Regions from separate parts of the Homo sapiens genome. Here region 1 is linked to region 2. Evidence: promoter capture Hi-C in 16 types of primary human blood cells and fetal thymus (Javierre and others, 2016). All regions are on one chromosome and are shown on one strand. The core of a region is centred on a gene start or on the middle of the fragment in contact, and the rest is flanking DNA. Distances in the headings are between cores, read along the strand shown. Region 1 overlaps RYR1 (ryanodine receptor 1). Region 2 holds the start of LGALS7B (galectin 7B).

What was found. Contacts are between HindIII fragments. The CHiCAGO score rates a contact against its expected background, and 5 or more counts as called.
Region 1: a fragment that was not itself captured here is called in contact with the fragment with the promoter of LGALS7B in region 2 in 1 of 17 cell types (naive CD8 T cells); the score reaches 6.2 in naive CD8 T cells.

Annotation. Positions count from the first base shown.
Region 1 is chr19:38,538,555-38,542,925 of GRCh38, forward strand. The region is part of intron 84 of RYR1 (ryanodine receptor 1); the gene reads left to right. Among named protein-coding and RNA genes, the nearest start is that of MAP4K1-AS1, 56 kb to the right of the region's middle. The HindIII fragment of the contact is 8,158 bases long and covers 1-4,371 here.
Region 2 is chr19:38,785,974-38,790,462 of GRCh38, forward strand. LGALS7B (galectin 7B) reads left to right here and starts at 3,227. Exons shown (of 4, transcript NM_001042507.4): 1 at 3,227-3,259; 2 at 3,643-3,731. The coding sequence starts at 3,254. The HindIII fragment of the contact is 12,505 bases long and covers 767-4,489 here.

The DNA.
Region 1 (4,371 bases), core at 1,278-3,777, 250 kb before region 2:
ACAGGCGCTCTGCAGTGGCTGCCAAAGTTCTATACACGTGGTGGATTTCTGTACTTTAGGTCCAGAAAAGACCTAAGGGAAAAAACTGCCTGGCATTTAAAAATAAATCTATTAGAATCACTTGTTTATTTTGCTTATAAAATCTTTGCAGAGGAAAGATCTGTACAAAGGCCTACAGATTCTTTCCTATCTTAAGCAAGAGTTTTGTTTTGTTGTGGTTCAGCCAATTTAACAAGATTGAGGATGACAGCAAATTAATTACACAACATCAATGATGAGAAATGCAGTCTCATGCAGCAAACCTAGCTTACAACTTTACAGAACAGACAAAATTCTGCACAAAAAACATTCTACCCAATGCCATTTCCTATAACAAACATGTACAGTCTCAAGATTGTGGTTATAACCTTTAGCAGGTGATTAGGAAACCACAGACTACCCGGAAATCAACTTTCGTGACAAGAATTGGAGTAATTAGTAATCTTACTTCCATAGAACCTTCACCCACTTGGTTAGTGCTCTTTAAGGTAACTGATTTGTAAATATCTTTAATCTTCATTCTTTTTCTTTCAACAAAGGATAAAGTATGATCTCTTTGTCTTGAATTTTCAAAAGCTCTTGTGTCCACAACGAGTTTTTCAAGGTTTATTAAATACCTTTGTGCCATGGGACTAAGATTTTTTCTTTTTTTTTTTTTTTTTTTTAGACAGAGTCTCACTCTTGTCGCCCAGACTGGAGTGCAGTGGTGTGATCACAGCTCGCTGCAACCTCTGCCTCCTGGGCTCAAGTAATCCACCCCTCAGCCTCCCGAGTATCCAGGACTACAGGCATGCATCACCATGTCTGGCTAAGTTTTTTATTTTTTGTAGAGATGAGATCTCACTGTGTTGCCCAGGGGATCTCAAACTCCTGGATTCAAGCAATCCTCCTGCCTTGGCCTCCTAAAATGCTGGGATTACAGGTGTGAGCCACCATACCCAGCCGGGACTAAGATTTTCATTCTTTAATTTTAACTAAGATGGAATCAGTCTTTGGGTTTAAAATAAATTTTATTCCTCAGGAATATGAAGTTTTGAAAATGAGAATGTTGTTATGAAAGGGATTGCTGTCTCCCAACATATTTGCAACCCAGTCCTCGCCTAAATTCATGACCTAATCAAATAGATATTTGAAATATCTTTCAAATCTCAGACCCCTTGCATGTCTTGAGGAGTCAGTGCTATTCAAAGCAGACAAAAGGTTTGTCTCTCACTTATTTGCACATGTCTATAACAGGTGTTGTCAGTTGCCAGAATTTTTTTTACAGGAGCTGTGTATCTTTTATTTTTGCATATAGCCCAATTTAAATTAACACAATTTAATTTAACAATTTAAATTAACACAAATAAAGGAGTTAGAAAGCAGGGTTGATGGGAAAACCTGTACCTTTGCTTATAAAATTTTGAATATTTGAGTATGCTTTGTCTATGTCATGAAACTAGGCAAAATGGGCCTTCTGTTGAGCCAACCTGATAGAGCAATTGTGAACTGACTGTAAAAAAGTTAAGGGGAAAGAAAAACGGGGGGCAAAAATACTTTCAGGGGCTGTTAAAACCTTCCTGTGCAACATGATGTTGCTATAAACATTTAAAAGGACTTGGCTGGGCACTGTGGCTCATGCCTGTAATCCCAGCACTTTAGGAGGCTGAGGCAGGAGGATCACTTGAGCCCAGCAGTTCAAGACAAGTCTGGGCAACATAAGGAGACCCTGTCTCTACCAAAAAAAAAAAAAATCATATACTACAGTATAATAAACCTCCAATCATATACTACAGTATAATAAACCTCCAATCATATACTACAGTATAATAAACCTCCAATCATATACTACAGTATAATAAACCTCCAATCATATACTACAGTATAATAAACCTCCAATCATATACTACAGTATAATAAACCTCCAATCATATACTACAGTGTAATAAACCTCCAATCATATACTACAGTGTAATAAACCTCCAATCATATACTACAGTGTAATAAATCTCCAATCATATACTACAGTGTAATAAACCTCCAATCATATACTACAGTGTAATAAACCTCCAATCATATACTACAGTGTAATAAACCTCCAATCATATACTACAGTGTAATAAACCTCCAATCATATACTACAGTGTAATAAACCTCCAATCATATACTACAGTGTAATAAACCTCCAATCATATACTACAGTGTAATAAACCTCCAATCATATACTAAAGTGTAATAAACCTCCAATCATATACTACAGTGTAATAAACCTCCAATCATATACTACAGTGTAATAAACCTCCAATCATATACTACAGTGTAATAAACCTCCAATCATATACTACAGTGTAATAAACCTCCAATCATATACTACAGTGTAATAAACCTCCAATCATATATTACAGTATAATAAACCCCCAACTACCCATCACTCAGCTTTAACAGTTTGCTTTCACAGAACAATGTTTTTTAAATAGTGGGAACCAACCCATCAGACAGACGTTCATGAATCAGTTTCACGCAGAGGTTCTCATTGTAATTGTACACTGGCATGCCTGGGGAGCTTTAAAAGAGACTTAAGCCCAGGTTTTGCCTTTACAGGTTCTAATTCAATTGATCTGGGGTTGGGCCTGAGCACTGGGGTTTTTAAAAGCCTCCTAGTTGTCCTGATGTGCAGCCAAGGTTGAGAGGATGAGAAGCACACACTTCTTCTTTTGTAGTTAACTAGAGCAGTACAGGACAGAAAAGAACAGAATGCATGGCACAGAGTAAGGCAATGTGAAACTTCTCTTTCGGGAATAGGTGAATATAATTTCAGATTGAACACATGTATCAGGTCTCAATGTAAAAAGGATTTCCTCGGCTGGGTGTGGTGGCTTACACCTGTAATCCCAGCACTTTGGGAGGCCGAGGCAGGTGGATCACAAGGTCAGGAGTTGGAGACCAGCCTGTCCAATATGGTGAAACCCTGTCTCTACTAAAAATGCAAAAAAATTAGCCGGGCGTGGTGGCGCATGCCTGTAATCCCAGCTACTCAGGAGGCTGAGGCAGGAGAATTGCTTGAACCTGGGAGGCAGAGTTTGCAGTGAACTGAGATCATGCCACTGCACTCCAGCCTGGGTGACAGAGCAAGACTGTATCTCAAAAAAAAAAGGATTTCCTACCATAGATTGCAGTCAGAAAAGATTAAAAAATTACTGCACAAGAATATAAACTTCACAAGGGCAGGGGCTGGACATACGGCTCATGTCTGTAATCCCAGCACTATGGGAGGTCAAGGTAGGAGGGTTGCTTGAGGCCAGGAGTTCGAGACCAGCCTGGGCTGGTCTCAACAAAAAAATTAAAAATTGGCCGGATGTGGTGGCTCACACCTATAGTTCCAGCTACCTGGGAGGCTGAGGTGGGAGGACCACTTGAACCCAGGAGGTCAAGGCTGCAGTGAGCTATGATCATGCCACAGTACTCCAACCTAGGCAACAGAGGGAGACCTTGTCAAAAAAAAAAAAAAATCCCCCCCAAGGCCGGGGACTGTTTTTTTTTTTTTTACTACTGTATCCCCAGAGCCTAGAATACTGCATGACACATAGTAAGAACGCAACAAATTTGTTGTAGCAAAGAGGATGTGACAATCTTAATCTCGTGAGGATGTAGTATACACTCAATAAAATATGTTGAATAAATGAACAAGTGACCAATCCATATGTTCCCTGGCCTTTAGTAGGTGCTCAATAAATATTTGTTGGATAAATGCATGAATATCCCCAGCACATAGGAGGAATTTGATAAAATTGTTTGGAAACTAACGAGGAACTGAATCTCTATTTCTCCCTGCTACATAGTTGGTGGTCAATATACAAATTTGTTGGAAAAAACTGAATGAATAAATGACGCTCCACCACATTTGACACATAGCAGGCCCTCAATAATATTTATATTTTATTTTTTTATATTTATTTATTTTTTGAGACGGAGTTTCACTCTTGTTGCCCAAGCTGGAGTGCAGTGGCATGATCTAGGCTCACTGCAACCTCTGCCTTCCGGGTTCAAGCAATTCTCCTGCCTCAGCCTCCCAGGTAGCTGGGATTACAGGCACATGCCACCACACCTGGCTAATTTTGTATTTTTTTTAGTAGAGACGGGATTTCACCATGTTGGCCAGGCTGGTCTCAAACTCCTGACCTCAAGTGATCCACCCACCTGGGCCTCCCAAAGTGCTGGGATTACAGGTGTGAGCCACCGCTCCCAGCCTATTTTAAAATTATTTATTTATTTATTTATTTATTTTTGAGACGGGGTTTCCATCTTGTTGCCCAGGCTGGACTGCAATGGTGAGATCTCCACTCACTGCAACCT
Region 2 (4,489 bases), core at 1,977-4,476:
ACATTAGTTATTTAAAACCGAAAAAAGACACACAAATATTACCGTGGCCAGGCCTGTAATCACAACATTTTAGGAGACCAAGGTGGGAGGATCGCTTGAGCCCAGGAGTTTGAGACCAGCCTGGGCAACATGGTGAGACCTCCTCTCTAGGAAAAAAAAAAAAAAAAAAAAAAAAGCTGGGCATGGTGGCGTGCAACTGTAGTCCAAGCTACTCCAGAGGCGGGAGGATTCCCAAGCCCAGGAGGCCAAGGCTGCAGTAAGCCATGATCACAGAGAGAGCCAGACCCTGTCTCAAAAAAAAAAAAAAAAAAAATTATTGCACAACTAATGAGAAAGATAACACAATTGAATAAGAACTCATCAAGGGCTGGATGCAGTGGCTCATGCCTGTAATCCCAGCATTTTGGGAGGCTGAGGTGGGTGGATCACTTGAGGGCAGGAGTTCAAGACCAGCCTGGCCAACATGGTGAAACCCTGTCTCTACTAAAAATACAAAAATTAGCCATGAGTGGTGGCACATGCTTGTAATCCCAGCTACTCAGGAGGCTGAGGCAGGAGAATCACTTGAACCTGGGAAGCAGAGGTTGCAGTGAGTCGAGATCGTGCCACTGCACTCCAGCCTGGGTGACAGAGCAAAACTCTGTCTCAAAAACAAACAAACAAACAACAACAACAACAACAAAAACCCATCAAGGATGCAATCAAGGATGCAGATCTGTTACCAGAAAGGAGTCAGGACTTCAGGCTAATAATAGAGTGAATGGAAAGCTTTGGCCAGTCAGCAAAGGCACGTTGGGACTTGCAGCATGTTGGCTGCATGTGAAGTTACATCCAGCCACAGTGAAGCGATCACTAAAAAGTTGAGTTCCTGGGAAACACGGTACACAGCATGAGGCGTCAGTAATGTGAGGAGTGTGTTCTTTAGAATGGTCAATAATGTTAGAATGATGGAGTTCACCATTCAAGGGAACATTCTCGGGAACTAACTGAGCTGCGCTGGTGGTGTGATCACCGGACACCCTGCTGTCCTCTCTGTCCGTGCCCATGACATGTCCTTGGCACAGACACCCCTGTGGAGCCCAGGGCCTGGCCGCTTCCTTGGCTGAGAAGCTGTCCCTGTCTAGGCCTCAGTTTTGTCTTCTGCAGAATGGGGGTGCTTGCAGCTCCCACTGAAATGCAGCTGCAAGCCTCCCTCTCTGAGCTCACGTCCCTAGGAACTGGTCCCCCACCTTGGTGCCTTGGAGTGTGTGGGGAGGGGGCAAGAGGCTGGGGGCCTGGGACAAAGAGGGTGGAGGATGGTTCTGGGTCTGGTGTCTCCACCCAAACTTTCCACTGCCAGCCTGCCTCTGCCCAGGCCTCTCAGCAGCCTGCTGGGTGGGGCAGGAGTGCAGGAGTTGGGTGGGGAGTGGAAAAGGTCCAGGAGGGCTGCTGCATTGCTAGGAGTGGTTTATTTTTATTTATTTATTTGTTTGTTTGTTTATTTATTTTTGAGATGGAGTCTTGCTCTGTTGCCCAGGCTGGAGTGCAGTGGCGCGATCTCGGCTCACTGCAAGCTCTGCCTCCCGGGTTCATGCCATTCTCCTGCCTCAGCCTCCCGAGTAGCTGGGACTACAGGTGCCCGCCACCATGCCCGGCTAATTTTGTTTTGTATTTTTAGTAGAGACGGGGTTTCACCGTGTTAGCCAGTATGGTCTCGATCTCCTGACCTCGTGATCCACCCGCGTCGGCCTCCCAAAGTGCTGGGATTACAGGCTTTATTTTTATTTTTTGAGACAGAGTCTAGCTCTGTCGCCCAGGCTGCAGTGCAGTGGTGTGATCTCGGCTCACTACAACGTCCGCCTCCCCAGCTCAAGCAATTCTCCTGCCTCAGCCTCCCAGGTAGCTGGGATTACAGGTGTCCACCACCACACCTGGCCAATTTTTTGTATTTTCTATAGAGAAGGGGTTTCACCATGTTGGCCAGGCTGGTCTTGAACTCCTGACCTCAAGTGATCCACCTACCTTGGCCTCCCAAAGTGCTGGGATTACAGGCGTGAGCTACCATGCCCAGCCAGGAGTGGTTTCTGTTCAGCTCCCACACCATCCCTGCCTTTCAGAAACAGATTTCAGTCCTGCCCGCCCCCCCCCCCCCCCCCGCCTCCCCCAGTCTACTTCCCCAACCCTGGATTCTCTTCTAGAGTCTTGGGCCCAAGCGGGCTATATTGGGGCTGGCGGGAGGGTCCCCACCTTGCTCTGCTTTTGATCTAGGTGGTGATGGAATGCTAGGCCACCCACCACCCTAAAACCCACCTCATCCTGACCTGCAAAATTGGTGGGAAGATGGTAACAGTCCTGGAAGGAGGAACAAGAGAGACTTGAAGGAGAGAAGTGGGACAGGAATACGCGGTAGACAGTTATAGACAGAGACAAACAGAGCCAGACAGCCAGCCCCAGAGACAGAACCCACAGGAGAGGCACGCCCAGAGGTGAGGAAAGGCAGAGGTTGGGGCAATGGGTCCTGCCCGGCTTGTGGAAAATCACTTCCCATCCCAGCCTCAGCCTCCTTCTCTGTACAATGGGGGTGACCCATGCTTCTCTCTGTTGGAATGGTGGGGTCCCAATCAGTGATTTCCTGCATATCCTGGGCAGCCCAAGGGCCTGGGAAATGACAAGCGTAGTCCTAGTGGATCCCCTCCTTTCACCCCTCCTGACTGAGGACTTCCCATGAACCCGGCACACTCCAGGACCCAGGGGTGCAGCACTGAGCCAACCAGGCCGCCCTCCGACCCTGTGAAGTCCCCCTGTCTGGCACTATCGTCGTTGTTGTGGCTGCTGTTCCACTGGAGACTTAGAAGCAGGGATTTCAGCGCAGACATTTCCAGTCTAGGCAGGAGGTTCTCAGCTGGAGAGAAGGGTCTAGAGTTCCCGCTGGGCTTGGCTTCTCAGGACCCAACATGTCTGTGGATAAAATGAGCATGAGAGACTCTCCTGTGTGCCAGGCAGTGGGAAGACAGGGGTGGAGGGGCGGTGGCTCTTATTATCAGCTCCTAGGAGAGGGGCAGTGCACCCGGGCTCTGGGTGATGGGGGGATCAGGGCCCCCAAGAAGAGGCGCCACTCCCACTTCGCCAGGCTTGCCCCAGGGCCAGGGTCCGTGCCAGGTGTGGGTGGTGGGTGGGAAGGGGTGGGGTGAGTCATCAGGGCCAGCCCCGCCCTGCTTTTATTTAAGGTCCCCAGCAGGCCCCACCACCACGGCTGCCCAACCCGGTCCCAGCCATGTCCGTGAGTGCTCCAGGGGCCCGGGGCGGGGCCAAGCAGGGAGGGGGCTGGGGGCTCCTCTTTCAAAGGAGCAAGTGGGCAGTGAGTGTGCCACGGACTGGCCTGGGCTGTGGCCTCCGGGTAACCCCCATCCCGACTGTCCCCTCTACCTCTTTGTGGCTTCCTCTGGGGCCCTCTTTGAGGATCTTTCTGTTTGTCTTTGTTGCTCTCCCCATCTGTTTCCCTGTCTGTTTCTGGTCTCTTTCCTGCCTCTCCGCCACCCTTTCCTCTTCCACTGATTTCTGCCAGTCTCAGCCCTGGTCGGCTCCTCTGAGGGGTGACCCACCTTCTGCCTCCCTCCTTCGGTCTCACCGGCTCACAGTGGCCCCTGCACCCCACTCTTGCAGAACGTCCCCCACAAGTCCTCACTGCCCGAGGGCATCCGCCCTGGCACGGTGCTGAGAATTCGCGGCTTGGTTCCTCCCAATGCCAGCAGGTGAGGCCCCAGGCCCTAGGGGTAAAGGGTACAGGTCTCAGGATCAGCTGACTCCCAATTTTTGCAGTCCAGAAGTAGGGGCCCGAGGCCACCTGTATCCACCAGGCTAGGAGTCCGAGGCCATTTCTGACCTCAAATCTGATGTATTCGTATTTGCCCCCGTGCCTTTGTGGCTGGGGTCCCTAAGTTTCCCTAAGCATTTGAGGTCCCTGGGTAATCTCAGGGTTCCTAGATATAGTCCTATGACTTCCATGTCTGAGTCCCAGGGAACTCTGGAAATACTCCAAGTCCTGGAGACACCCTGGACCCTGGGAGTCCTTGCCAAGCCATCCTTTGACTTCCTGGCTAAGGAACTTCGGGCCTTCTGGATTCTGAGGTACCCTGGAAATACTGGGGTTCCTGGTATTATTCTTTGTCCTGTAGAAGCTGAGGGTTCCCTGAGCATCAGGAGCACCCTGGCTATCACCCAGACCTCCTGGGCAGCTCCCAGGCTCTTTGGAAATGAGGGCACCCTGCCCTAAGCGTAGTGAGTTTGGTCTGGGTAGGTTTCTGCCAAGGGCCTCATGATATTTTGGCTGCCTTGGGAATCTAAGCTCCCTGGTCATTAGTCGCCCACCTCTCCTTCTGCGGTGTGTGCCTGTCTTCAGGTCCCTGTTAATTTGGGGGTACTCTGGGAATGGGGAGTGCCAGCCCATAAGACCTTCACTTTGGTCTGGGCGGTTTATGTTTTGTTTGTTCTTTCGTTTTTTTGTAAGGTG